7 separate regions of the Homo sapiens genome follow, and all the other regions are linked to region 1. The links are contacts of gene promoters, found by promoter capture Hi-C in human tissues and cell types (Jung and others, 2019). All regions are on one chromosome and are shown on one strand. Each heading gives the region's core, a stretch centred on a gene start or on the middle of the fragment in contact. The rest is flanking DNA. Distances are from core to core; before and after follow the strand shown. Region 1 holds the start of CAPN1 (calpain 1). Region 2 overlaps SF1 (splicing factor 1). Region 3 holds the start of FAM89B (family with sequence similarity 89 member B). Region 4 holds the start of SCYL1 (SCY1 like pseudokinase 1). Region 5 overlaps EHD1 (EH domain containing 1). Region 6 has its middle 4.9 kb from the start of LINC02736. Region 7 holds the start of MIR194-2HG (MIR194-2 host gene).

Region 1 (3,871 bases), core at 1,372-3,871:
GTGATCATTTTACCCTCTCTTGGTGTATGACAGCTCCAGTTCTTCTATATCCTTGACAACATAACAACACTTGGTATGGTTGATCTTAACTTTTAGCCATTCTAGTAGGTGTTCTTTTAGAAGCAGTCCTTCTAGTGGCTTTAATTTGCATTTCCCTAAGAGTAATGCACTCAGTGTTTTTTAATGTGCCTATTTGCCATCCAGAGATCTTTTTGGATGAAGTGTCTGTTCAAATGTTTTGTCCATTTTTTGACAGGCGCGGTGGCTCACCCTGTAATCCCAGCACCTTGGGAGGCAGAGGCGTGCAGATCACTTGAGGTCAGGAGTTTGAGACCAGCTTGGCTAACATGGTGAAACCCTGTCTCTACTAAAAATACAAAAATTAGCCTGGTGTGGTGGCGGGCGCCTGTAATCCCAGCTACTGGGGAGGCTGAGGCAGGAGAATTGCTTGAACCCAGGAGGTGGAGGTTGCAGTGAGCCAGGATCGCGCCACTGCATTCCAACCTGGGTGATGGAGCGGGACTCCATCTCAAAAACAAAAACAAACACCAGAAAACAAACAAATGTTTTGTCCATTTTTATTGGATTTTTATTCAATTGTAAAAGTTCTTTATACAAGTCCTACATCAGATAGAATTTTTACAAATATTCGTCCTAGTCTATGGCTTATCTTTTCATTTTTAATAGTTTCGTGCATTTTGAGAAACAAAAGCGTTTTATTTTGATGAAGTTCAATTTATTGATTTCTTCTATCATTTACACTTTTTGTGTCATATTTAAGAAATCTGGCCAGGTGCCAAAGCTCACACCTGTAATCCCAGCACTTTGGGAGGCTCAGGCAGGAGGACTGCTTGAGCCCAGGAGTTCATGACCAGCCTGAGTAACACAGCAGGACCCCATTTCTACAAAAAATTTAAAAATTAGCTGTGTGTCGTGGCACGTGCCTGTAGTCTCAGCTACTCAGGAGGCTGAGGTGAGAGGATCTCTTGAGCCCAGGAGTTTAAAGTTACAGTGAGCTGTGATCAGGGCACTGCACTCCTGCCTGGTCAATGAAAGCAAGACCCTGCCTTTAGAAAAGAAAAAAGAAATCTTTTCAAACCCAATATTGTTAAGATTGTCTCCATTTTTAAAAAAAAAAGTTTTATGGTTTGGCCATTTATATTTAGGTGTGTAATCCAGTTTGAGTTAAATTTTGATGGTGTATCCTAAATAGTTATCAAATCCATCTACTTCTGCCTGCCACCTCTCTAGTTTAAACCACCCTTCTCTGTCCCTGGACACCTGCGCAGAAAGCCTAGGAGCTGGTTCCACCCATCACTCACCAGGTTAGGTATTTCAGGCAAGTCACACCCTCTCAGGCCTCAGTTTTCCTCTTTTGTTAACTGAGGGTGAAAGTGGGGTTAGATTAGATCAGCGGCTCTTAACTTTTGAGGGGTCGTGGGCCCTAGAGTCCTGGGAACGCTATGCAGTTTCCTCAGCAAAATGCTTGCATCCACAACATGCAAGACTGCAGCAGCTGCTGGGCTGGGGCTGCGAGACCAGCGAAAAGCCCTGACTTGGGGGGGTCTCGGGAGTCTCTGCAGTCTCCCCACCCACACCCCCGGCCTCCGCGCCGAATCCTGGCCCCCCAACTTCTTGCAGCCCGTGAAGCAGGATCTCAGGGTCCTGGGGGTGGGGAGAGGGGGCTGCCGTCCTGCTCGCAGCCTCTGCCGCCCTCTCCTGGGTAAGGTGACACATGGGCGCTTCCAGGTGGGTGGGCTGAGAGCCTGGGGGAGAGAACAGGGATGTCCACCTCTCTAAGTTTCCAGGTTCAAGAAACCCCAGAACGTTAGAGAAAGATGGGCTCCCACAATTGCCCAACCCCATCCCATAGGATGCACGCATGCGGAAAGTCGGGCCGAACGGGGCAGGGACTTACCCAAGGTCACGCAGCGAGCCCGGTCCCCCTGCGTTCCCCGGGGAGCGCTGAGCCGGGACGCGGCGGTGGGGTGGGGAAGGGGAGTGGCGCGGCCCTGCGGGGTGAGGCTGCCGTTTGCTGAGTGTCCGGCAGGGGTCTGCTCGCTGCCAGCCCGGCCCCTCCTCAGAGCAGCTGCCGCAGCCCGAGGTAATCTCGGCCCCGCGCCGGGGCTGGCTGGGAACGGCGGGAGCAGCTGCGGTCGCGCGGAGCGAGGGGAGCTGGGGACCGGGCGGGCCCGGGGCTGCGGGAGGCGGCGCCGCCGCACAATCGCCCCGGAATGCCCGCCAGGGCGCGCGTGGGGTGCGGCCGTCCGGCCCTGCAACTCGAGCTGCTGCCCCTGGTTAAAAATACCCCCTGCCCGGCCCTCCCCCTCCGTTCCCCGCGGTGCCCTTCCGCCGCGCCCCAGCCCCCCCATCCCCCCCCGCGCTGGCCCCTCCCCGGGGACTGCTCTGCCTTTTACTAATTTGTCCTCTCGCGGAATTGGCCCCCGGCCTGCGGAGGGAGGGGCGGGGAGACACCGTGAGTAAGAGATAGTCAGAGACCGTGCCGGAGAGATAAGGGAGAGCCGAGAGGAAGCGGGGTAGGAGCCCCAGGAGGAGGAGGAGGAGAAGGAGAGAGGGAGGGCGGAGGGCGGAGGGGCGGCGGGAGGAGGGCGGGGAGGAGCGCTCTTCCTGGTTGGGCCCTGCCCTGAGCTGCCACCGGGAAGCCAGCCTCAGGGACTGCAGCGACCCCCAAACACCCCTCCCCCAGGTAAGAAGCTGGGTAGCCGAGCCGGGATTCCTTGACCCTGGCCACTGCTCCTGGGCTGAGGGGCTGCCCCAGCACGGTCCCTTCTCGGGGGCCTCTGCGTTCCTGGAGCAGGGGTGGGGGCTGGCGGAGCGGCACAGCCCAGGCGCCTGTCCCAGCCTGGCTCACCGCTGTCCCCAGGGGCTGGGCTAGGGCCCACCAGCTCTGATATCGAGCCTGCTGCGGGGGCCTGAGGAGGGGGACCCCGACCGTCTGGGGTTTTCAGCCCACGGCAAGGGGCCGGTGCACCAGGAGCTTGGTTAGTTTGGGGAGGGGGTTGCAGGCCTGTGAACAGGATCAAAGAGGCCTTCCCTGCTGTGTCCCACCTGCCCAGTTCCTTGTGCTGTCTGGAGGCTCCGCCCTGCCCCACCTGACCTGCTGGCTCACTACAGAGCTGCAAGCCCCTGACAATGGGATCCGGGAAAGGAGAGGTGGCCGGCACGCCTGGGAACTGGGAAATCCCTTTCCTGGATTCACTGGGAGCACCGGGAGGTGGCTGAGAACCCTACTTCTGTGAGGGGAGCAGTGAGGCAGGGAAACCCTAGGTTTGGGGATGGATAAGCAGGGGCAGGAGAGCAGAGCTTGCAGGCAGGAGCCCAGGTTCTAGTCTTGGGAAGGCCTGGGTTCTGAGCAGGCCCATCTGTCCGGCAGGATGTCGGAGGAGATCATCACGCCGGTGTACTGCACTGGGGTGTCAGCCCAAGTGCAGAAGCAGCGGGCCAGGGAGCTGGGCCTGGGCCGCCATGAGAATGCCATCAAGTACCTGGGCCAGGATTATGAGCAGCTGCGGGTGCGATGCCTGCAGAGTGGGACCCTCTTCCGTGATGAGGCCTTCCCCCCGGTACCCCAGAGCCTGGGTTACAAGGACCTGGGTCCCAATTCCTCCAAGACCTATGGCATCAAGTGGAAGCGTCCCACGGTGAGAGGGGCCATCCTGGGTGGGACTCGGCTAAGCCAGATCCTGGATGAGGAGTAGGGATGGGACTCCATGTCCCTGGTGGGGAATGGGGTCTGGGGTGGCCTGGTGCCAATTTCTGGGAGGGGCTGGCCGAGGAACAGGACTCTGGGTCTCTCGTAGGAACTGCTGTCAAACCCCCAGTTCATTGTGGATGGAGCTACCCGCACAGA
Region 2 (3,871 bases), core at 533-3,032, 410 kb before region 1:
ACTAAGTTTATACCTGACAAATTCACACTCAAGAGGGAAGAGAGGCTGGACCAATTTGGCATTGGTGGGAAACCACAAGCGCAGAGAATTGGATTTTCCCACCAAGAGCTCCATGAACTCTATATTATGGTCAGCCACAGTAAACCTGAGGATTTGACTTCTCCGCACTAGTGGGGAAGTTAAGACACCTTCTCACAGAAAGGCATTAATTCAGCCAAAATGAAATGTCCTACCAAAAAGGGGAAAAGTAAGCCAACAGTCCCCAATTAGGCACAAAACGGACACATCTCACAGGCTCTAAAGGAATTCTATATCCTATAGACCAGCAGTTACTCACCTGGGCCCGATGAGCAGCCCCACAAAGTTGATTTCTGGGTACTCATCTTGTGGAATCATGACTTTATCACTCACACGTGTTGCTGGAGGTCTAAGAAAGAAAAGCCTGTGTCACCGCACATTTCTGGAGAATGACACAGCCAGCGGCTTTTCTAAAACCAAATATTGGTACCAAGTGCTAATTATGGGTGACTTGAGGCAAGAGGTGAGTAGTACCAATACTGTCCCATCCCAGCAGGTCACCCATGATCTGCATGTGTCTTCATCCCAGATGACCGAGCCCCTCCGCTTACTTGTAATCTGCAGGTGGCTTGAAATCCGGATTGAGTGCAACCATCTCTGTGATGAGGTTGTGCCGCTCCTCTTCCAGCTTTTTGCGGGTGCGGAACTCTCGGGTGTTAAGCCGCTTCCCCTCGCTATTGTAGATGGGCTCAGGGGAAGGGGACCTGTGGGAAACAGACTCCCGTTTACTATTCTGCACCGACTTCTCTCATTCCCACACGGACTATAACAAGTCTTTCCCAGCCCCTCTGCCTCTCAGACCCTAATACAACACTCTTCGGAGGAACCGACCATAACGTGTGCTACTCAAGATCGTGTGGAATGGGGAGATGGAAGCTGGCTTAACGTTAGGGGTCTGGGGTGTGTGTGAGAAAGGAAAAAAATAAAAGATTTTGCATCTAGAAGTGATGAGAGGAAAAAATGTCTATTCTTTGGGGAAAATCTTTGGACTGTAAGTGGCAAGGACAGTATCATCCCCTGGAGTCTTCTTGCCAAATACGGATTTTCTTCCATTTGAAAAAAAATACATATCCCAACTTTATGAACCACAGAAACCCCAAGTTTAGGCAAAAGGTTAACTCTTGGAGAGCTCATGCCCTATGAGGAAAAGCTTCTGTACCCCTAACACATAGTATGTATGAGCTCTTTAACCCAATGCAACTGGGACTGAAGGCTACTGCAGCTACTTGGCCCCCACAATGGAGAGAGATGGTTCGCTTCGTCTTTGCTTTTCCTTCAATGGCCTGGCTGGCTGTGTCCAAGGCCCAGGAGACAACCTGTTTTCTGGCTGTTCGAGGTTGGGGAGTCTGGGTAGAGAAAAACGTTAAAGTGCTAAAGCAGCTTCTGCGAGAGGCTGCAAATGCAGATTTGGTCATACTTGTCTAGGGTCTGAACCTGCAAACAGCAAGGGGAAAACCTATGATTCTCCACCAGAGTTTACAAGTCCAGAAAGCAGATTTTCTCTCTCTCATTTTTTTAAGGAGTAAAATGCTGTTGCTACAAGTAAAAAAATGTAATGATAAAATGGTCAGTTTACCACAGCTGGATTTTGCGGTAATAAAAAAGAGAGGTTACACTCCTAGAATTTTGAGTTAAGATTACAAAAAGGACCATAGCTTGATATTCTGAATGAAAATTTAGTAGCAGCTGCAAGAAGGGAAGAGACCATGTGGATCAGGTTATTAAAAAAACATACTGAAAGTAATCAAGACTCCTATACCCTTGGTTTAGTTGAGAGAACCTTGCCTAGTTGGAGAGCAAGGACTGAACTCGGCTGCTCCCACTGTCTTCAGCCTAAAGGGAACCATGTCACACCACGTTACACACACGATGGAATAAAAGGTCAGGTTTGTTCATGGCTAATGACGGCTAAATGACACCTCCGTTTCTAGCATTTGTATAAACTGTTAGCACAATCCATTAAGAGTGAACAAAAGCAAACATACCCCAGCTCATTAGACTACCATCTTATACATTTAAGTCTACAAGAAAAGTTTTAAACATGTTTTTACTGTGCAAGTTAAGCAGCATCAAAATAACAATAAAGTGGCTTAAGTGATATAACACCTTTTTAAGAAATTATCTTAATTAAGAAAACCCATGCATTTCCCTCCAACCTGGGCTCAAAAGCAAAACCAATCAGGCATTAGGGCCTCTTTCAAAACTGAATAGAAGGGAGGAAAAACCCTGCTCTGGTTTTATTTCTAACATGCTTGACATTTCTAATTCCCACCCCACAGCTGTCTAGAATTAAGCATTCTTAGCTAGTTACAAAAACAAGTCTTACCAGCACCCAATTGGCCATGTGAAGGCCTCACAACAGTTTAACCTCCTCCCAAATTGCAGAAGTGAAAGGCAAAAGCTAGTATTCTAGAGGTTAGACTGGCCCGACTTCTTCACCTCCAACAGGCATCGGCTAGATCAACTAAATTCTAATCCCAGTTATCCAGGAAGCAAAGAAGGTTTGTTAAAAATTCAACCTTTGGAGGAATTGACTGGTGACCTGTAGACATATTATTAAAGGGAAAAAGGCCAAAAAGGCACTAAACAGTTGTGGTCTATGACCTACAATGTAAATTTAAAAAAAAAAAAAATCTTCAAAAAGAAACGAAACACAACACAACCCTACAACCAAAATCTATCTATAGGTAAAATATAGCAAATGTAGTAAGTCAAATTAAAGAGTCAATATGGAGAAACAAGGAAGTTAATGTTTCCTGGCAAAGGGCGGAAGAAAGATGCATGAGTGAGTGACTTCTAAAGCCATTACATCATCTTCCTGATTTAATAAGCTATTAACTGGGTAACAAAAACCAAAAACACTACTTTTTAAAGCAAAGTCTTTTCAACTATTCTGTATGTACTAAGAGAAAATTCAGTGAGAGGGAGAGACTTACTGCCCTTCTAATTAAATGACCAATTTTAGCTGTTCAATCAGCTAATAAAATTCCAGTTTAAAAAAGTTCATCTCCCCCACACAATTTATTTTTCTGAGGTGAGAGAAACTGCAAACTGAAATGACATGACCACAGCTGTTTGAGGCCCACGCTCCCTTTAAGGAAAAAAAAAAAGTAATTTAGGGTTGGTTGCATGCCTTCCCAAAATAGGTGAGAATATTCTGGCCCCTCCCAACACCCCCAAGGCAATGGCCAAGGCTGAAAGTTAACTGGCAGTGAAAGAAGTTGGTTAGAAATCTCATCTGATTTTGAAACCATCTCAAAACCATGAGCAGGAAGACTGCAGCAATGAGCTGACCAGAGCTCCTGGCTTGCTCAAGTTCAGTGATGCTCAAAAATATTTTTAGTCCCTGCACTGTGTACCTGTGAGAAAAACTCTATGCCCTGGGCTTTTGGCCAAAGCAGGTACTGAAAAGGCAGGTTAACGGGCCACCTCACTGTCCCCTAAGGGTGGGTAAATCAGGTTAAGATCTACATGCTTACCAATTGGAAACCAGTTGTCCATTTTCCTGTAACTTTTTATTCTCCCAACATTTTTAAGTTTTATTCCAATTTTCTAACTGTTGACTGACCATACATATTTCTAATTAAACCTTAATCCCCAAAGTGGTCAGGGTACAGTCGTCATACTATGATTTTATTGAACTGACACAATATGTTGCCACCAGTAAAACGTATTGAGAAAAAGGTAAAAGCGTTACTGTCAGCTGGTTAAAACTGTTTCCCAACCTGTCCTCAGGGTTAGGGGGGATGCCCAGGTCTCCTGTGCGCAGTTTACGAGTCAGGTCTTCTATCTG
Region 3 (3,871 bases), core at 1-2,500, 390 kb after region 1:
AAAACACCTCAAGCACAGAAAGAGCAGAGCAGAAAAGGAGATGGCTCAGGGCTGAGGTGGGCCAGGCATCCTGACCATTCCACCCACTTTCTCCTCTTTTTAGCTCTGAATGCCCAGGCTGCCCTCTCCCAAGCTCGGGAGCACCAGCTGGCCTCAGCCTCAGAGCTCCCCCTGGGCTCTCGACCTGCGCCCCAGCCCCCAGTACCTCGTCCGGAGCACTGTGAGGGAGCTGCAGCAGGACTCAAGGCAGCCCAGGGGCCACCTGCTCCTGCTGTGCCTCCAAATACAGATGTCATGGCCTGCACACAGACAGCCCTCTTGCAGAAGCTGACCTGGGCCTCTGCTGAACTGGGCTCTAGCACCTCCCTGGAGACTAGCATCCAGCTGTGTGGCCTTATCCGCGCATGTGCGGAGGCCCTGCGCAGCCTGCAGCAGCTACAGCACTAAGAGAAGCCCCTGAGAAAAACCCTCTAGAAAAACAGCTGTTCCTCTGTGTGGTTTGTTTTTTTCCTGGTTCCAAGTGTGCATGCCAGCCCCAGCTCCACTCACCTTTTTCCAGCTTTTGGCCTCTTCACCTCTCCACTCTGCTCTCCTTGACGCCCTGAGATGAGTTGAGCTTGTTTCTTCTCAGTTTCCCCAGTCAGGATGAGGGAGTAGGTAGAGGACTATGTGATGCCCCTTTTCTAAGGAAGAAGCCATAGCCTTTTCAAAGGTAGCAGCCAGAGGGGTGGACCCTAGCCTTGTCTCTGGCAGCACCTCTGCAGCCTCTTCCGCCATCTGGTGTCCATTCCCCACCTGGAAGTGAGGTTTTGTGTTCCGATCCCCTTGATAGATTCCCCTCCTTCCCCTGAGCATCCTGACCCTATCAGCCTATCCCATCTCATGCCCACCCCAGGTACTCAGACACCGACAGGAGTTTGTGGTGACCCCAGCGTCAGGTGGCACGTTAGGCACCAAGTGTGGACTTGCCAGTCTCCTGACTCCACTGTTAGATCATTTTCCTTGGGTGTGGGGGCGGGGCGGGGCGCGGCGGGGAGACGGGGTAGCAAAAAGAACCGTGAAGAAACCACGCCTGCCCCCTTCAGCCTTTTCCCCCCTCCGCCGCATTTTTCCATCTCCCCTTGAGTGAGTGGATGTCCCGTTGCCTTTTCTCAGCTTTGCGCGACGTGGTCCCACAACCGTTGCCTTTTTAAGAGAGGCCCGGCCCATCCAGAGGGGGTGGGGCAGAGGCGGAGTCTGAGGAGCTGGGGAAGGAACAAAGCGAGGCCTGCGGGCGGCGGCTGGGCTCCGGCGGGGCCGCGGGGTGCGGGGCCTGCGGGCGGCGGCCCGGGCGGAGCGTTGGAGGGAAGGAGGTGGCATCGCCGTCCGCGCCGGCCCCGGCCATGAACGGGCTGCCCTCGGCAGAGGCGCCGGGCGGGGCGGGCTGCGCTTTGGCCGGGCTCCCACCGCTGCCGCGCGGCCTCAGCGGCCTCCTTAATGCGAGCGGGGGCTCGTGGCGGGAGCTGGAGCGCGTCTACAGCCAGCGCAGCCGCATCCACGACGAGCTGAGCCGCGCCGCCCGCGCCCCGGACGGGCCCCGCCACGCCGCCGGCGCCGCCAACGCGGGACCCGCAGCCGGCCCGCGTCGTCCTGTCAACCTCGACTCAGCGCTGGCCGCGCTGCGCAAGGAGATGGTGAGTGGGTGGGCGCCGGGCCAGCTGGGCGGGGGGCTGACGCGGAGGAACGCAGGGGACTGGGACAGGCGGCCTGGGTCTCAGAGGACTTGCAGGCACCAGTTGGGTTGCAAGGGTTATGGTAACAATAATTAGTGATAGTTACCAATTATGGCAGTAGTTACCATATATTTTCAAATGTTTTGCTGACGTTACTTCATTTCATCCGGCTAAATGGATAACCCCATTTTTTGGGTGAGGGTCATGACTAAAGTTGCATAGCTTGCAGGTGGTGCCTGATGTCCACAAAAACTTCGTTTAGGAAGGTGCGGGGAAGATGGGCTGGGGCCCACTATTCCAGGGGGCGGGGCTGGGCTGGGGTGGCCTGGACCCCAACTCCAGCCCACCCTCAGTTGTCTGCAGGTGGGGCTGCGGCAGTTGGACATGTCCTTGTTGTGCCAGCTGTGGGGCCTGTACGAGTCAATCCAGGACTACAAACACCTGTGCCAAGACCTGAGCTTCTGCCAGGACCTGTCATCCTCCCTCCATTCGGACAGCTCCTACCCACCGGATGCGGGCCTGTCTGACGACGAGGAGCCTCCCGATGCCAGCCTGCCTCCTGACCCGCCACCCCTTACTGTGCCCCAGACGCACAATGCCCGTGACCAGTGGCTGCAGGATGCCTTCCACATCAGCCTCTGAAGGGCTGGGGGGCAGGGGGCATGCACCCATGCAAAAGGCTCAGAAACTCCCCCTCCGGCAAGCCCTCAGACTTCGGAGCCTGCGCCTTCCCCCCTACCGCCTCACCTCACAGGAGGGCCAGGCATGTATTCCTCAGAGGCGAAACTGCCAAACTCTTTCTCCTGTCTTGGGTTGGCTGGCACTGGGGCGGGCATCTAGGGTACAGCCTCTGCTCATGGCACTGGGCCTCCAGTTCTTCCACATGTGTGCACCCCCAGCTTGGCCAACCCTCAGCCTTGCGGTGGGGCCCGAAGCATCTTCCCTTCCGCTTGGCGTCTCTGGGATTGGGATGAGTGCCTGGCTCCCATCTCCTCCTCACCTTTTGTTGCTATCGGCAGCTGCTGGCTCAGGGGCATCCCACCTCCGGGCTCTGGGTTCCTCTGCCCTGGAAGGGCTCCAGGACCCGTCCCAATAACCACCCACGGCCAGGAGGGCCAAGGCCCCGTGCTGGATATTTAAATTTAGGGGCCGGTCTCCAGGGCGCGTAGATAAATAAATACACTCAGCGTCGTTGTGCTCTGCCTGGCTGGCTCTGGGGCGGGAAGACCGCGGTGTTTGTGGCAGGTGCGGCCCCGCGCTCTGCCAGCAGGTGGCGCCCGAGACCCCCTCCCCCCCCGCCCCGCGCCGAGTGAAGGCCCTGCCGTCCCGCCGGGGCGGGGCTGGGGGCGCTGCCTGCTGGCCGAGCCTGGCTCAGCCGCCGGGTGACTGCGGTCGAGTCACTTCCCCTCTCTCGCCCGCGACCTCCGAGTCCCCCGCTCCCTCCTCCCAGTTCGCTTCGGGCTTTCCCTGCCTGCCGGGAAGGAAGGAGAAGGAGCCGCCCACCTTGAGGAGGGAAACTTTCCACCCCGCGCGGGGCGGGGTTGAGGCGGCGCAGGAAATGGGTGGCCGGAGTCGCCGGAGCAAGGGGCCCCGGCGGGGGCGGGGGAGGCGCCTCCGGGAACGGCCTGGGACCTCACGCCCCGCGGGTGGGAGGGAGGGGTGGCAGAGGCCGAGGGGAGTGAAGTCGCGGCACCTCGGGCCTTCCCGGAGGCCAAGCATGAGACTCCGCGGCGGTGAAGTTTGATTGGGGTTCCAGGGACCCGTATTCCCCGCTCAGTCTGTGAAGACCGCCGGCTCTCCCCACAGCACTAGCGGTCTTTACAGTTATCTGTGGAAGGTTTCTTAGGAAACCGGGGACCCACACCGCTGGGACTGAGAACCAAACCCAGTTGTCAAGCCCACCGGAAGAAGCCAGCACGTTCGGAGACAGTGGGTACTCAGCCCCCTACACGCGCACACGACACCTCACAACCTCCTGAAAAGAGGTGAAGCCGCACACCGAGGTGTGCGGACGAACAGCACATCCCCGCGCCCTGCTGCAGCCATTTGCCTCCTGGAGATGCAGCCCAGATGGCAGTCCTGGCACTCAGACATCCCGTTAAACCAAGTAGCAGTCACGCACCGGGCTCCTGTCCATTTACACACCTTGCAGAGCAGCG
Region 4 (3,871 bases), core at 1,372-3,871, 340 kb after region 1:
GACCAAAGAGCCCTCAAGAGGCCCTTATGCGGGCGTGACAGAAGGCTCACCTCTTGCCTTCTAGGTCACTTCTCACAATGTCCCTTCAGCACCTGACCCTATACCCGCCGGTTATTCCTAGGTTATATTAGTAATGCAACAAAGAGTAATATTAAAAGCTAATGATTAATAATGCTTATAACAATGATTGATAATTGTTCATGACCATCTCTATATCTAATTTGTATTATGACTATTCTTATTCTAACTATTTTCTTTTTTATACTGAAACAGTTTGTGCCTTCAATCTCTTGCCTCCGCACCTAGGTATTCCTCCGCCCACACATATGTGGGGGAAAGGAAGCGAGATCAGACTGTTACTGTGTCTATGCAGAAAAAAAGAAGACATAAGAAACTCCGTTTTGATCTGTACTAAGAAAAATTCTTCTGCTTTGAGATGCTGTTAATCTGTAACTTTAGTTCCAACCCTGTGCTCACAGAAACATGCGCTGTATTGAATCAAGGTTTAAGGGATTTAGGGCTGTGCAGGATGTGCCTTGTTAACTATATGTTTGCAAGCAGTATGCTTGGTAAAAGTCATCGCCATTCTCCATTCTCTATTAACCAGGGACATGATGCACTGTGCAAAGCCACAGGGACCTCTGCCCGAGAAAGCCTGGGTATTGTCTCCCCGACTGAGACAGCCTGATATGGCCTTGTGGGAAGGGAAAGACCTTACCATCCCCCAGCCCGACACCCGTAAAGGGTCTGTGCTGAGAATTAGTAAAAGAGGAAGATCTCTTTGCGGTTGAGATAAGAGGAAGGCCTCTGTTTCCCGTATGTCCCTGGGAATGGAATGTCTTGGTGTAAAGCCCACCAGTCATTCTATTCTGAGATAGGAGAAAACTGCCCTATGGCTGGAGGTGAGATATGCTAGCGGTGATACTGCTCTGTTACTCTTTGCTACACTGAGATGTTTGGGTAAAGAGAAACATAAATCCAGCCTACGTGCACATCCGGGCACAGTACCTTCCCTTGAACTTATTTATGATGCAGATTCCTTTACTCACATGTTTTCCTGCTGACCTTCTTCCCACCATCACCCTGTTCTGCCGCAGTCCCCTTGCAGAGATAGTGAAAATAGTAATCAGTAAATACTGAGGGAACTGAGAGACCAGCGCCGGTGCAGGTCCTCGTATACTGAGTGTGCCGGTCCCCTGGGCCCACTGTTCTTTCTCTATACTTTGTGTCTTATTTCTTTTCTCAGTCTCTTGTCTCCACCTGACGAGAAATACCCACAGGTGTGGAGGGGCAGGCCCCCTTCAAACATGTTGGTCAGGCTGACCTGGAACTCCTGACCTCAGGTGATCCTCCAGCCTCGGCCTCCCAAAGTGCTGAGATTACAAGCGTGAACCACTGTGCCTGGCCCTCACCCCAGTTTATAGATGGGGGACCTAACGCACCCAAAGGGAACTGTGTGAGTTCTCACATCCAATGAGGGGCTGAACCGTGATTGAAACCCAGCACCGTCTCACTGTGGCATCTCTGCCCTTGAGTTATCTCCCAAAGGCATCCCAACCAGACTTTTCATAACCAGTCCCAGAATCTCACCAGTGCTCCATAGCTGTGGTTGAGGCACTGTCCCCAAGCCTGGGTCCTGAGACCCTACCAGCAGAAGAACCACTGCCTGTCCAGCCCCTCCTACACAGCTCAGGGGCTGGATCCCCACCAGTGTGATGTGCTGATTGAGCTAACACCACTCCATGGCTGTCTACACAGGCACTGAGAGATGCAATCCGTTGGCTTGAGAGCCGGGCAGCTGAGCCCAGGAGAGCAGGGTCCCCTCCCAGCCCTTTGGCCTCTTCCAGACCTGCCCAGTTGCTCCTTCTCCCTCCCTCCTTTCCTGGGGTCACTTCTTCTTCCCTCCTCAGTCTCTCCTTCCTCCATTCCCTGGGTGCCCGCCCCTGCCCCGGGGTTCTGGACCTCCTTGGAACCTTGGATTCACTCTCTGCCTCTCACCCACGCTCTTTCTCTGGGGCGTCTCCTCGTGCTTCTCTCATGGTCACTTCACCAGGACCGACTCCTCCCCGGAGCCTGGAGGCACCCACTTGCTGGTGGGAGAGAGTGTCTGGCGTGGGGCCAGTCTCCCTCTCTGGGTCTCTGCCTCACTCCTCACTGCACCCTCTCATGCCTGTCAGTCTTTCTACCTCTCCCCCTTTTTGCCTCGGTTTCCCCATCCCTCTGTCCCTTCTTAAGCTCTCATCCTTACAGTACGCTAGAAGGCAGGCTCTATTATCCTTTAGGATTTAGGCCTCTTTAGATAAAAGGGCTCACAGGCTTGGAGGGTTTTAAGTGACTTACCCGGCGGCGGAGTACTGATCTTAGTACCGCCCGCCGCCCCGGACTGCCCCGCCCCTCCCTAGCCCCCCCATCCCCGCCCCTCCCTAGCCCCCCCATCCCCGCCCCTCCCTAGCCCCCCCATCCCCGCCCCTCTCCCGCCCCTCCCTTGTCCCCGCCCCTTCCCGCCCCAACTCAGGTTCTGCCCCACCCCGCCCCAATTCACGTCCTGCTCCGCCCCGACGTAGGCCCCGCCCTGGCCCCCGGGCCCCGCCCCCGTCTGACGCAGGCCCCGCCCCCTCTCCGCCCCGCCCCGGCTCGGGCGGCCGGAGGACCCGGAGCTAAGGCGCCCGAACCCGCGGCGGCGGTGGGGACGATGTGGTTCTTTGCCCGGGACCCGGTCCGGGACTTTCCGTTCGAGCTCATCCCGGAGCCCCCAGAGGGCGGCCTGCCCGGGCCCTGGGCCCTGCACCGCGGCCGCAAGAAGGTGAGTGCGGCCGAGCTCCGTAGGCCGCGGTCGACCTGGGCCTTGCCTATTCCGCGCCGCCGACCCCGTCGCGTTGCGCCCGGCCTGACGTGGCGGCGGAACCAAGGGGTAGCAGGCCGGGGAGGGGGCGGGCAGTGCCTACGTGGCGGGCGGAGGGACCGAGGGACCGACAGGCGGACAGGGCCGGGGTCACGTGGGCCCGGCGAAGTGTCCCTAAGGCTGACCTGGGGAGAGACCTGGCTGCGGGCCCTTGTCTTCCGGCCACACAACAGCTCTGGGACCATCTCAGGCCCCGCTGCCCTCCCCTAGGCCACAGGCAGCCCCGTGTCCATCTTCGTCTATGATGTGAAGCCTGGCGCGGAAGAGCAGACCCAGGTGGCCAAAGCTGCCTTCAAGCGCTTCAAAACTCTACGGCACCCCAACATCCTGGCTTACATCGATGGACTGGAGGTACCTGCTGCCTTGCCTGCCCGTCTCTGCCCCTCACGATGTCCTGGTTACCCACTCCTGTCTCCCCTCCTGCCCTGTTTCCACCCTATGTGCCCCAGCACCCCCAGATTTGGTTTCCTCTTCCCCATCTCTCCCAACTTCAAGTCGCTTATCTCTCCTTCCTCTCTGCCCCTCCGCCCTTGATAACCCTGTGTCCCCTTCCCCAGACAGAAAAATGCCTCCACGTCGTGACAGAGGCTGTGACCCCGTTGGGAATATACCTCAAGGCGAGAGTGGAGGCTGGTGGCCTGAAGGAGCTGGAGATCTCCTGGGGGCTACACCAGATCGTGGTGAGGTGGGGGGCAGTGGTGATGAGAGCAGGGATGGGGGGTTGCAGGTGCTGGGGCGTGATGGCTCCTTTTGCCCCCAGAAAGCCCTCAGCTTCCTGGTCAACGACTGCAGCCTCATCCACAACAATGTCTGCATGGCCGCCGTGTTCGTGGACCGAGCTGGCGAGTGGAAGCTTGGGGGCCTGGACTACATGTATTCGGCCCAGGGCAACGGTGGGGGACCTCCCCGCAAGGGGATCCCCGAGCTTGAGCAGTATGACCCCCCGGAGTTGGCTGACAGCAGTGGCAG
Region 5 (3,871 bases), core at 982-3,481, 320 kb before region 1:
ATGGGAGGGCAGCCCTGCCGTCCCCCAGTGGGAGCTGCTGCTGACTCCTCCACTACACGGGTTCCCCCTTGGTGGCATCCGCTGCTCCCACCCTGCAAAGCCCTCCAGGACAAAGGCAGGTCCACAGCCCAGGCTCCTGAGAGGCTGCCTCTACGCACAAGCACGCCAAGATAAATGGCACCACAGGGTGTGCGGAGTCAAGCTCGCTCATGGGATAAACACTCCTGCCGCCTGCCCCGGCCCCAGGCCCAAGCGTGCTTGGCGCCATCTGTGAGCCCAAAGCCACAGGGGCGCGGAGCCCCTCCCCACACCTGGCGCTCCCAGAAGGAACTCGGGCCACTAACTAAGATGGCTCTGCACTCCACTCCCGCCCCCTGCCACTGACTCTGTGACCTGAAGTTCTTTTCCTAACTTCTCAGTTACTTTCTCCATCTGTGAAATTTAAATACCAATTCCTCAGCCGGGCTGCAGGGAGGAGGGCGTGTGGGAGCACTGGGCCTCCAGCCCAGGACCCGACAGGGACAGCCTCCTTGGCAGGCTGGGGCAGGGGAAGCCAGGGCTCTGTGGGAACAAGGGGCCAGCGGCCTGGACCCATCACCGGTCAAGGACTTTCATCCTTGAGCAAAGTCACCAAAATGTAAGGAAAATCCCAAATCCACAGCTTCAGCCACACAGCCTCGGCAGCCTCTCCACAGGTGATGTGCGGCCGTTCCCTGCCCCAGCTCAACAGGAAATAGGGCACTCTGACCAGAAGCAGCCCCGAGGGCCAAGCTTCTTAACAGGGTAGCAGTGCAGGGGAGCCGGGGTCCTGGCCTCCAGCCTGGACGGGGAGGCCCGATCAGCCTTCCAGAGGCTCAGGTGGATGGTCGGAGACAGCAGAGCTGCCAGGTTCCCTGTGCCCAGAAGGTGTGGAAGGGCATCGTGCCAGGGCACCTCATGCCACCACAGGCTCCTGCTTCCAAAGTACAAGGCCCCGGGCACCCGGACTCCCTGCAGCTGGCTCTGAGCTCCACAGGAGAGGATGCCCAAAGAGTGAAGTCTCGGCAGAAAACCAGAAAGAGAGGCCAAGGGCAACATGAGGGAAACAGGGGCAGGGAGAGGCCGCCTCTGCCCCCGGGGGATGAGGCCACACTAGCTAAGCCTGCAGCGCCTGCCTGGGGCCCGCAGCCCACAGCCTTTTATGGCCAGCTCTGGGAACGCAGGTCAGTACTGAAAAGGCGATGACTCAAGGACTGAGGTTCCTCGCTCAGCAAAAAGGGGGCCCAGCTTCTCCCCTTGTCAAATCATTTGTCTTCAGCCCGCCACAAGCTGAAACTAGAATTCACACAGCTGGGGAGGCTGTGATGCCAAAACCGAGTTCTTGGGAATGAGGGCGCCCTGATGGGCTGTGCTCAGCCCATGTTAGCTTTGGCCTGGGAGTCAGGACGGCGCCTGGGGAGCTGAGGTCACCCTCCCAAACTCCACCCAGCAAGGCCCCACTCCCCCCTCCCCCTGGATGGCTGGGGGGCCCTGGGGAAAGAGAGAAAAAGGAGGGGAAGGAAGAAAGAAGAGTGAGCACTCCAAAACTCCCTGCCCCAGGTCCAGAAGCCCTGCCCCACCTGCTCTGAAACCCAGTTACTGGCCGTCATCTCAAGCTGGAGTCAACAGAGGTAAGCCCATTTCTTTGCAGGTGACTAAAATTTCCTGTTTATTACAGAAAATGTGCTTTTGCTGTGAGGGAAACACAGTGACTGGCCAGCCACACCCACAGGTGACAAAAAGGGCCACAGCACTCAGGCCTGTGCCATGCAGGCAGTGACCACGTAACTGCACGCCCCACCAGGCCCACCGGCGCTCCTTAGCCCACCAGGCCCTCGCTGCCCTCAAAGGCACCTCACTCAGCCTAAAAGACGCCGGGTTTCAAGAGGTGCCAAAGGCTACACTGCACAGCGGTAACACTGAGCCACTCTCTAGATCAGAGCTGGACGGCCGGTATCAAGTACAGAACAGGGCTTGCCAGCACCCCCGGCACTGCCCAAGGCAACAAGACTTCAGGCTTTGGCACCCACCAAGGTAGGGGCCTTGCTGTTAGCTTGACTAGCTCAGGCCCCAGTGGGAGTGACAGAACTGATGCCGAGCAAAAGGACACAGAAAACATGGCCCAAGCGGGTGGGCTGGAGAGAAAGGCCCACCTGCAGAGGGAGTGGTTTTAGTGAGTAAAAGCCAGAGCCCCCTCTGATAAGGGATCATAAGCCACCAGGAAGCTCTAGCTCAGAAAATCCTGGGACCTAGAAGACATGATGCTAAGTGATGAAATAAGTCTGTGACCTTTTCCAAAGATGACACACACGCGGCCAACGAGCATATGAAAAAACTCTCAGCATCACTAATCATTAGAGAAATGCAAATCAAACCACAATGAGACAACATCTCATAACAGTCAGAATGGCTATTATTAAAAAGTCTAAAAATAACAGATGCTGGTGAGGTTGCAGAGAAAAGGGAACATTTATACGCTGCTGGTGGGAATGTAAACCAGTTCAGCCACTGTGAAAAGCAGCTTGGCAATTTCTCAAAGAATTTAAAACAGAACTACCATTCGACTCAGCAATCACATTACTGGGCATAAACCCTAAGGAAGAGAAATCATTCTGCCATAAGGACACATGCACACATACGTCCATTGCAGCACTATTCACGATAGCAAAGATGGAATCCACCTAAATACCCATCAACAGTAGACTGGATAAAGAAAACATGGTACATATACCACAGAGAATACTATCCACCCATAAAAAGGAACAAGATCATGACCTTTGCAGCAACATGGATGGAGCTGGAGACCATTATCCTCAGCAAACTAACACTAGAATAGAAAACCAAATACCGCATGTTCCACACCAAATACCGCATGTTCTCACTCATCCATGGGTGTGAAACATTGAGTACACATGGCAACAAAGAAGAGAACAACAGACACCAGGGCCTACTTGAGGGTGGAATGGGTGAGGACAGAAAAACTGCCTAGCAGGCTGGGCATGGTGGCTCACGCTTGTAATCGCAGCACTCTGGGAGGCTGAGGCAGGAGGACTGCTTGAGTCCAGCCTGGGTAACATAGCGAGACCCCCCTCTACAAAAATTTAAAAAAATTTGGGTGTGGTGGCATGCATCTGTATTCCCAGCTACTTGGGACACTGAGGTAAGAGGATTGTTTGGGCCCGGGAGGTGGAGGCTACAGTGAGCTGTGATTGTGCCACTGCACTCCCAGCCTGGGTGACAGAGTGAGACCCTGTCTCCAAAAAAAAAAAAAGAAAAGAAAAACTACCTATCAGATACTACGCTTATTACCTGGGTGATGAAATAATCTATACACCAAACCCCACCACACTCCATTTACCTGTATAACAAACCTGTACATGTACTCCTGAACCTAAAAGTTTTTTTAAAACATCCTGCCACAAAAGGACAGATACGGCACTGTAGGATTCCACTGACAGGAGATACCAGGAGTAATCAAGTGCACAGAAAAGGAATATAGAATGGGGAGTGCAGGGGCTGCGGGGTGCAGGGAGCCACGAGGGGAGCTGGTGTTGAACAGGAAGAGTGTCCATTTGGGAAGTGAAGAGCTCTGGAGCTGGATGGTGGTGACGGCTGAACAATGAAGAATGTGCTAAATGCCAGTGAAATGCACACCTACAAATAGTTAAAATCTACTTTTCTGGGGTCCATGACCAAAAAACGTGGTTAAAATGAGGCCGGGCGCAGTGGCTCACACCTGTAATCCCAGTGCTTTGGGAGGCCAAGGCGGGCTGATCACCTGAGGTCAGGAGTTCGAGACCAGCCTGACCAACATGGTGAAACCCCATCTCCACTAAAAATACAAAAATTAGCC
Region 6 (3,871 bases), core at 699-3,198, 310 kb after region 1:
GACCTCAAATGACCTGCCCACCTCGGCCTCCCAAAGTGCTGGGGTTACAGGCGTGAGCCACCACGCCCAGCCTGGCTTCTGGAATTTTCTAGCCAGAACACAGTCTCTCCTGGGCCCTGTTCCTGTTGTATCACTTCCTGTACTAATCTGTTCCCCTCATGGCTAGACCGAATGCAGCCTGACCCCTTGGATAAGCTTCCAGGAGAAAGCCCACAGGATGGGCAGCCAGGGCGTGAGTGTCCCTACAGCTAACTCAGGGAGATGTCCGGGCCCCAGAGGCCATCTGCCTGCATCTCTAAAAAGTGCTGTGGGAATGTAACTTTTCTGAGTCTTAGATTCTTCAATTGTAGCATGAGGGGCTACTTAGAATTATGGATTTTCAGGATTGGAAGAAAAATCTCAAGTTTTCTTGACCAGCTTCTTCGCAATGCAGGGATACTGCGGAACCCTAGGAAGGTCACCCAGCTTCCAGAGGATACCTGTGGGAATGGGAACTTGCTACCTAGAGGTTTATTCCACTCAAACACTGGGTGGCTCTGATCCACTATTACCAGTTCAGGAGAAGGCCCTGTCATTCTGCGGGCTTCTGTTTTAATCCGGCATTGTTGAGAAACACACCCCGACAAAGTGCCTGAAACCTTGTGGCCGCTACCCCCTTGTCCCAGGAGATGTGTGTCTGTGGGATGTGGGCCACACTTGCATGAGGAAGAATGAATATACGTGTGTGTGTGTGTGTGTGTGTGTGAGCATGCTCATGGAGGATGTTTAATCAGCTTCATGCTGGGTGTGCCAGGCCAATACAAACATCTGCCAGGGACCTGAAGCATGACTGAAAAGATCAGGGACACAAGAACGCGGCTGCGACTCCCTGAGAGCTTCATTGTTCCTTCAGGCCACTTGGGAAGGTTCACTCAGCAGGCGTCTCCCGCGGTGACTCATCATGGGGCAAGGACAGCAAGGGCTGAGCCGGGCTCACTACCCTGCACTGGGCAGGGGGCGGGTAGGAGGTAGAGGGGTGAATGCTCCATCAGAGCTGCATGGAAACCACAGGTGGCCTCTGGGTTTTCTCCCCTGTCTCTGTGGATGGCAGTTGGTTCAGAAGTTCTGAACAGACCTCCAGAGCAAAGCAGTTCCCAGTTTCCCACGCAGTACAGCTAGCTCAGTCCCATTCCACTCCATCCTGATGGGCATTCGAATTTACGTCAAGTCTAAATCCGTTCTGTTCCTGTGGAATGATCTGTTCCTGTGGAATGATCTGTTCCTGTGGGAGCTTTTCAGTATTCTGGTTGTGTGTGTGTGTGTGTGTGTGTGTGTTATAAATTCCAAAAAAGATACTATTCCAATGTATTCATTGAGTCATTACTCAGTAGACACACATGGAGCTTCTACTGTGTGCCAGGCTCTAGTGATCTGGCAAATGACAGCTCTTTGCCTCAGTTTCCTCATCCGTCTAAGGGGAAAGCAACACCACCTCCCCCACAGGGCTGTTGTGAGGCACAGCACTCAATACACGTTACAGAAAATAAAGATGCACATGGAGTGGATAGACGGTTCTACAGACGCAGCCCCCAGGAAGGCATGGGGGACAGCCCAGTTGTGCCCCTCGATGTCAATCTGTCCTCCTACAGCCCACAGTGCTACAGCTGGGCTGCCACAGCCAGGCCTTTCGGGAGGATCCACCAATAGGCTTCAGGGCCCAGGGCCAAGTACATTACGCAGCAAATAGACCAAGGAAGGAACTAGGAGCCTGGAACTCTCAGGCAGGGGGTGGGGAATTGCTTTCTTAAGACACTTTCTCCTAAGAAAGAACAACAACAACAAAAAAGACACTTTCTCCTTTATTCCCCTCCCCGAAAGAGGATTCTATCTAACAAGGAATGCTTGCTAGAAGTAGAGGTGGGTACATTTAGAAGATGTTTTCTTGTCTCAGGAAGAGAGAATCTGTTTCCCCTACCCTCCTGCCCTGGTGATTCAGGGCTGTGATGGAAGAGGCCCCAGCTGCCTCTTCCGCATATCATTTTGGGAAGGTCAATGACACAGCCACTTCTAGTTTCTGTAACTCATTCTTGCTGGAATTGCCCTCAGCTCTCTGTGAAGTGACAGGCCTGTCTGCTGGGTTTCAAGGGATAATTTTACATGTTCTACAGGGTAAATTATTAGCTGTCCAAAACCCCCTAGAAAACAATGCTCTGTCTTCCATATCATAGAGCTCTGAGCTGCATCATCTCTGTAGGTTTTTTCCTGCTGTGGGGGCGGTCACAGTAGGTGAGGGAGCCTAAGTTTGTGCAGCAGCTACGGAAGGTCACATTGTTCCAGAAATCGGCTCTGGGAAGGTGGGCAGCCAGGGGATGGGATTGGGAACTGCAAATTCCTAAAATCTTTAGAAAACAAGAAAGTTTGGGCTGGGTGTGGTGGTTCATGCCTGTAATCCCAGCACTTTTGGAGGCAGAGACAGGCGGATCACTTAAGGTCAGGAGTTTCAGACCAGCCTAGCCAACATGGTAAAACCCTGTCTCTACTAAAAATATGAAAACTAGCCGGGCATGGTGGCAGGCACTTGCAATCCCAGCTACTTGGGAGGCTGAAGCAGGAGAATCACCTGAACCCGGAAGGCAGAGGTTACAGTAAGCTGAGATCCCGTCACTGCACTCTAGCCTGGGTGACAAGAGCAAAAAACTGTCTCAAGGAAAAAAAAAAAAACAAAAACCAAGAAAGTTGTTTTCTTGGGACTGTCTTTGCCCTTCATTTCTGACCTGCATTTCTAGAGAGCTCTAGAAATGCAGAATTAAAGAAAAAATTACAGGATTAGATAAAATCAAAGGAGGCCTGGGAGGAATCCAGGTGCCATGAAGACTCAGCCACTGCGGCCTCTGGGCTCCAGGGCCGTAGATGACGGATCTCTCAGAAGCTTGTCTCTTGACTAAGCCTGACTGGACTTGCCAATCAGGGAAGGGGTGGAGTGGATTCTGGCATTCTCTGGAGGTTTCCGGCCTGGCCTGAGTCAGGAGGATTAAGGTAGGGCCTTGCTGACTGTATGCTTGGAGGCTGGATGCAAAATTTTTGCCCTTTTAGTCCTTTTCAGCACCCCGCCTTCTCGAAGGTACAGCCAGGAGGCCTAAGATCTTTCCTTTTTCTTTTTTTTTCAGACAGTCTTGCTCTGTTGCCAGGCTGGAGTGCAGTGGCACCATCTCAGCTCACTGCAACCTCTGCCTCTCGGGTTCAAGCGATTCTCTTGCCTCAGTCTCCCGAGTAGCTGGGACTACAGGTGCCCTCCACCACACCCCAGCTAATTTTTGTATTTTTAGTAGAGATGGGGTTTCACCATGTTGGCCAGGGTGGTCTCGATCTCTTGACCTGGTGATCCGCCTGCCTCAGCCTCCCAAAGTGTTGGGATTACAGGCATGAGCCACCACGCCCGGCTCCAGCCTAAAGTCTTTCATGTCCTCTCCCCAACCCTTTGTTTACTGTATTTTATAGAATCAGCATCATGGCTTCTTGCATGGAATCCTCTCATTTTACATATCTCAGTTGCTACTGGGAAGTTATTTGGGTTGGTGCCTGAGGTCACAGGGCTGTTTGTCAGTGGAGTAATTGCCAGAAACCAGAACCAAGGGCATTCTATTTTTAGCCTGGGCTTTTTTGAGGGGAGCATGAGATGACTGGCTAAAACAAATTTGCCCTCTTATATTTGTGTCCTTAGGCCCAAATGAAGTCTAGGTTTGAGACTAAAGTGAAAGGGAACAAACATGATATTAAAGGACTAGTGGAGGGGGCAGCTTCCATCAGACATTATGAAATTAAAAGGAGCACAGACGCAGTCCAGAGAAAAGGTGCTTGAAAAAATTCAGTGTTATGTTAAAAAGATCCTTAG
Region 7 (3,871 bases), core at 1,025-3,524, 290 kb before region 1:
CTGGCACTTGTCAGTCCCCAGGGACCTCCCAGTGCCTGATTTCATGAGGATGGCCTCGTATGGGAAGCTGAAGATGAGACTAAGAAGAAGTGTGGGGGGCTGTGTGGGGGAGGGCACAGAAAGAGGGATAGTGAGGCAGAGGGGCTGAGAGAGGAAGAGAAGAGTAAGGCCGAGGATGGCGGTGCACACCTGGCATCCCAGCACTTTGGGAGACCAAGGTGGGAGGATCTCTTGAGCCCAGGAGTGCAAGACCAGCCTGGGCAACACAGTGAGACCCCATCTCTACAAAAAATAAAAAATTAGCCTGGTGTGGTGATGCATGCCTGTGGTCCCAGCTACTCAAGAGGCTGAGGCGGGGGATCACTTGAGCCTGGGAGGTCGAGGCTCCAGTGAGCTGGGATTGTGCCACTGCACTCCAGCCTCAGTGACAAAGAAAGACCCTGTCTCAAATAAAAATAAGAGGAGCAGGTAGAGAACTAGAAAGGAACAGAGAAAACAAACAGGGATAGTGGATGACGAGGTGTAGGAAGGGGGACGACAGGGAACTGGAAAAGATGTAGATACACAAACCTGCCGCAGAACATGAGGAACAGGCTGTGAGCAGTGGCTCGCCTGGAAGGACGCTTAGGACCTCAGTGGCCTGGAAGACAGCAGGGGCCTGGGAGCTGGGTGACCTTGAGCAAGTAGCGTAACCTCTCTGAACCACTGTCCATATGTCAATCAGGACTTACGAGGCCACCCTGCACGCTGGGCTGGCCTGGTGGGAAGCATCCGCCCTGGGACCCTTGGGTCTCTCTCCGCTGTGGGGAGAGGAAGCAGCTGCTGGCCAGGGTCCCTGAGTGAGCCCAGGGCTCTGTGAGGCAGAGCTTCCTCTTGCAAAGCGTGTTCTCGTCCCTCCCAGACAGGTTCCGGTGACAGGTGCCAGTCCTGCAGAGACCCAGCAGGCATTTTGGGAGACTCCAAAGCTTCTGGAGAGAAAGGGGAGCTTTTAGAGTAGACTTGGGCCCTGCCCCCTTTGCCAGTGGTGCATACAGGCCTAGAGAGACAGAGGGGGCCGCCCAAGGTCACAGAGCAGGGCCCCAGGGCCTGTGCTGCCCCAACAACCTTCCCGAAGTGGCGTCCCCCCTTCTCAGGATGCAGTCAGGGTGGGATGGGGGATCCCTGGGCTGGAATCCTTCTGCCTGGGGGGACAGACCTGCGAAGGAAGACACCGTAGCTGGTGGCTGGCCCTCCACTCAGCCTGGCGGCCCTTCCCACAGAGGCCTGGGCGAGACCAGCCTCCTGCAGCGTGGTGTCCAAGTGCCCTGGCCTGGCAGAGACAGCGCCCGATCAGGAATCCTGGCTCCACAGCTCTGAGCGCTGATGCTAAGGCCCCCTTATCCCACAGTGGAAACCAAGGCACAGAGAGGAAGGGGCTCGTCCCGGCCACCCCATGGCTGTCCAGGTCCCTTTCTTCCTCAGGATTGGCCACCCTTCAGAGAGGTGCCTGGGTTCAGGAGCCTCCTAGGACAGGGAGGGCGGCAGGGGTCCTACCACTCAGGAAGCCTCTTACCTGAGTGCCGGGCTGGCCTTCGGGGCACAAGGAGGAAGTGGGGACACCCTGGGCCCAGGGCCTTTTGAGCCGTTGACCCAGCCCCTGGTGGTGGTTAATGATTATCCCACCACCGTCAATACTGATCACAAGTGCGGTTCGAAGGGCAGGAAGCCCTGGACTGTGCCCGGGCAGGGTGGGGCGGGTCCAGGAAGCATCAGGCTGGGCCCCATCTGCCTCTCCGGGTGGCATCAGCACCGAGTCTCCACAGCCCTGTCTCCTCCAGGGCCTCGCCCTCCTGGTCTCTTACCAGCCTGCTGCCCCAGCTGTCCGTGGGCAGCCAGGACCCCAGGGTCCCTCGGGACAAAGCTTCTGCTCTGTTCCCAGTACCCAGATCTCCCCCACTCAGAAGGGGCCACAGAGCAGGGCTGGGGGACCTTTGCTAACCCCAGAGGCCTGCGGAACCTAGCAAGGTGAGGGTTCCCTGATTCCCAACCCGAGCCTTGGTTTCCCCATGGACCCACCCACCTCTGTGCAGCGCCACTGGGAAGCAGGGCAGGGAGGAGCGCGATGGGAGCAGCTCACAAGAAACAAGATGTGTGGGGGGCAATGGGCGCTCCCTGGTCCTGTGTAAAGCTTTGTGCAGTGAGGGTTGGGATTCCGGCTGCAGCGCTGCTCCAGCACCCCTCCCCCCTCCAAGTGCTGGAGCTGGGACCCCAGATCAGAGTGGAAACCAAGGGGCCAAGGCCTGGGCCACCCCAAAAGCCCCCACTAGGGATGGTGAGAGCAACATCTAGAATGCCTCAGGCTCAGCCTTCCCCGAGTGGCCTCAAGTGACAACCAGGCAGGGTCAGCTGGGCTCCAAGGACCATCCCTCCCTCCCCTGGCAGCCCCACGTAGCTCCTGCCACATCAGGAGTGGGGCTGGAGTGGCAGCCTCCTGGGAGGGGCAAGGCAGAGCCCAGAGCCAGGGGAAGGCGTGCAGGGCTGGGTGCCTCTGGGTCCCCCTGTGCCCTGATCTGCTGGGCAAGGCCAGGAGGCATGGCGACCCCTGGTGGTGACATGGGAGGTGCTGGGTGCAGAGGTGGGATCTGGGGCGGGGCCAAGGTCAAGGCTGAGGCCAGGGTTCACAGGGACAGAGGATCTGAGAGGGGGGCTGGCGGTGGGCAGTTTATTCCACTTCATGCAGACACTGACCCACGCACTCACGGAGCTTAAAAATAATACATCGAACCACACGGATATCATCCCCTCCTCCCCCCAGACACAGAAAGACACTTGGCTGAGTGGGATGGGGTCCGAGGGTCCAAAAGCCTCCGTCCTGGGAGAAGGCAGCAGTGTGGGCCCAGGTCGGGGGAGGGGCAGTGTCCTTTCTCCCCGGAGGAAAAGTGCAGAGCCAGGGCTAAGGCCCCAAGGCAGGGAGGCCCCCCTCTCACAGCAGATTGGCAACGGGCAGGCTGGGAAGGCGTCCTTCACAGTGGCCATCCCCTGAAGGGCCAGGCCGGGCCGGGCCCGTGGGCTGCAGCTCTTGGGAGGCTCAGGAGCATGGTGGGCAGCACCCTCTGGGTGCCGGGCACCCCAGGCTCAGTCTTGGGCACTGTCCGAGCGCCACTTGAGGGCGTGGTCCTTGTGGGCGTCGGGGACAATCTGGTTGCGCATGCCCCCGAGCAGGCTGGACGTGGCCTCCGTGGCCAGGATGAGCGGCTTCACCACAGTCGGGGGCAGCTGGCGGATCACGCCCCCCACGGCGCCCGTCAGCCCCTTCTGCTCATGGCCCCGCGATGCCACGTCACAGATGGTCTGAGCTGTATCCAAGATGCCCTGTGGAAGCCAGAGGTCAGGGCGGGGTCTGTGTGAGGAGATGGGCATGGGGGACTGGGGCAGGGCGGGGGCCTGGTCACCTCTCGCACTGTGTCGTAGGCCTTGGCCACACCCTCCCGCAGGTCGGCAGGCTGCTGGCCCCTGCGCAGCCTCCGCGCAGAGCGCTTATCCTGCAGGGAGCGGGAGACGGGGGCTGCCGGGGACAGGATGTCATACACGGTCTCAGCTGTGGCCTGGGGGACATGGGAGCACTGGATGAGGACAGCTGGCTGGGGCACACGTCAGCCCCAGGCCCCCAGGACAGTCTGAGACCCCACCAGCCCTCAGCCTCCCTGCCTGTCACTGTGCTGGCCTAGGGGGTCCTGCTCAGCCTCACTCCCCACTTCCTCCCACTCTTCCTCCCCTTCCTAGGCACCTGCCACTCTGCTGAGGGAACCTAGGAACGTGGGACTCCTCAGGGGACTTTCCTAAAGTCTTCTCAACCCAAACCTCTCTTCCTGCTGACCACCACATTCAGCAG

What was found. Contacts are between HindIII fragments. The study calls those that stand out against the background at their distance.
Region 2: a fragment that was not itself captured here is called in contact with the fragment with the promoter of CAPN1 in region 1 in 1 of the 25 tissues and cell types used here (liver).
Region 3: the fragment with the promoter of FAM89B here is called in contact with the fragment with the promoter of CAPN1 in region 1 in 1 of the 25 tissues and cell types used here (lymphoblastoid cells).
Region 4: the fragment with the promoter of SCYL1 here is called in contact with the fragment with the promoter of CAPN1 in region 1 in 1 of the 25 tissues and cell types used here (adrenal gland).
Region 5: a fragment that was not itself captured here is called in contact with the fragment with the promoter of CAPN1 in region 1 in 1 of the 25 tissues and cell types used here (spleen).
Region 6: a fragment that was not itself captured here is called in contact with the fragment with the promoter of CAPN1 in region 1 in 1 of the 25 tissues and cell types used here (spleen).
Region 7: a fragment that was not itself captured here is called in contact with the fragment with the promoter of CAPN1 in region 1 in 2 of the 25 tissues and cell types used here (dorsolateral prefrontal cortex and lymphoblastoid cells).

What each region holds. Positions count from the first base shown.
Region 1 is chr11:65,179,307-65,183,177 of GRCh38, forward strand. CAPN1 (calpain 1) reads left to right here and starts at 2,622. Exons shown (of 22, transcript NM_005186.4): 1 at 2,622-2,707; 2 at 3,395-3,662; 3 at 3,822-3,871. The coding sequence starts at 3,396. It overlaps CAPN1-AS1 (CAPN1 antisense RNA 1), which reads right to left and starts at 2,528. Exons shown (of 2, transcript NR_145677.1): 1 at 1,919-2,528; 2 at 565-1,766. RefSeq lists silencers at 1,941-2,390, 2,992-3,286 and enhancers at 2,309-3,098, 3,099-3,871. The HindIII fragment of the contact is 8,891 bases long and covers 196-3,871 here.
Region 2 is chr11:64,769,627-64,773,497 of GRCh38, forward strand. It overlaps SF1 (splicing factor 1), which reads right to left. Exons shown (of 13, transcript NM_004630.4): 3 at 3,804-3,871; 4 at 630-782; 5 at 338-427. Among named protein-coding and RNA genes, the nearest start is that of SF1, 7.0 kb to the right of the region's middle. RefSeq lists an enhancer at 3,110-3,199. The HindIII fragment of the contact is 3,620 bases long and covers 1-3,592 here.
Region 3 is chr11:65,571,288-65,575,158 of GRCh38, forward strand. FAM89B (family with sequence similarity 89 member B) reads left to right here and starts at 1,251. Exons shown (of 2, transcript NM_001098785.2): 1 at 1,251-1,673; 2 at 2,076-2,903. The coding sequence starts at 1,383. The coding sequence ends at 2,354. ZNRD2 (zinc ribbon domain containing 2) reads left to right here. Exons shown (of 4, transcript NM_006396.3): 4 at 104-601. The coding sequence ends at 447. RefSeq lists silencers at 1,122-1,571, 2,851-3,370 and an enhancer at 3,741-3,871. The HindIII fragment of the contact is 7,840 bases long and covers 1-3,871 here.
Region 4 is chr11:65,522,462-65,526,332 of GRCh38, forward strand. It overlaps SCYL1 (SCY1 like pseudokinase 1), which reads left to right and starts at 2,622. Exons shown (of 18, transcript NM_020680.4): 1 at 2,622-2,803; 2 at 3,113-3,253; 3 at 3,460-3,582; 4 at 3,663-3,871. The coding sequence starts at 2,693. RefSeq lists a silencer at 2,470-2,969. The HindIII fragment of the contact is 17,278 bases long and covers 1-3,871 here.
Region 5 is chr11:64,863,405-64,867,275 of GRCh38, forward strand. The region is part of intron 2 of EHD1 (EH domain containing 1); the gene reads right to left. Among named protein-coding and RNA genes, the nearest start is that of MIR10392, 13 kb to the right of the region's middle. RefSeq lists enhancers at 1-804, 2,418-2,717. The HindIII fragment of the contact is 8,078 bases long and covers 1-3,871 here.
Region 6 is chr11:65,491,074-65,494,944 of GRCh38, forward strand. No RefSeq gene overlaps it. Among named protein-coding and RNA genes, the nearest start is that of LINC02736, 4.9 kb to the left of the region's middle. RefSeq lists silencers at 589-1,090, 2,785-3,079, enhancers at 765-1,059, 1,896-2,406, 2,407-2,918, 2,410-2,539, 2,785-3,079 and 1 more and a cis regulatory region at 2,818-3,060. The HindIII fragment of the contact is 5,007 bases long and covers 1-3,871 here.
Region 7 is chr11:64,891,859-64,895,729 of GRCh38, forward strand. ATG2A (autophagy related 2A) reads right to left here. Exons shown (of 41, transcript NM_015104.3): 40 at 3,432-3,584; 41 at 2,688-3,351. The coding sequence ends at 3,115. It overlaps MIR194-2HG (MIR194-2 host gene), which reads right to left and starts at 1,591. Exons shown (of 3, transcript NR_133640.1): 1 at 1,553-1,591; 2 at 732-968. The HindIII fragment of the contact is 4,598 bases long and covers 1-3,871 here.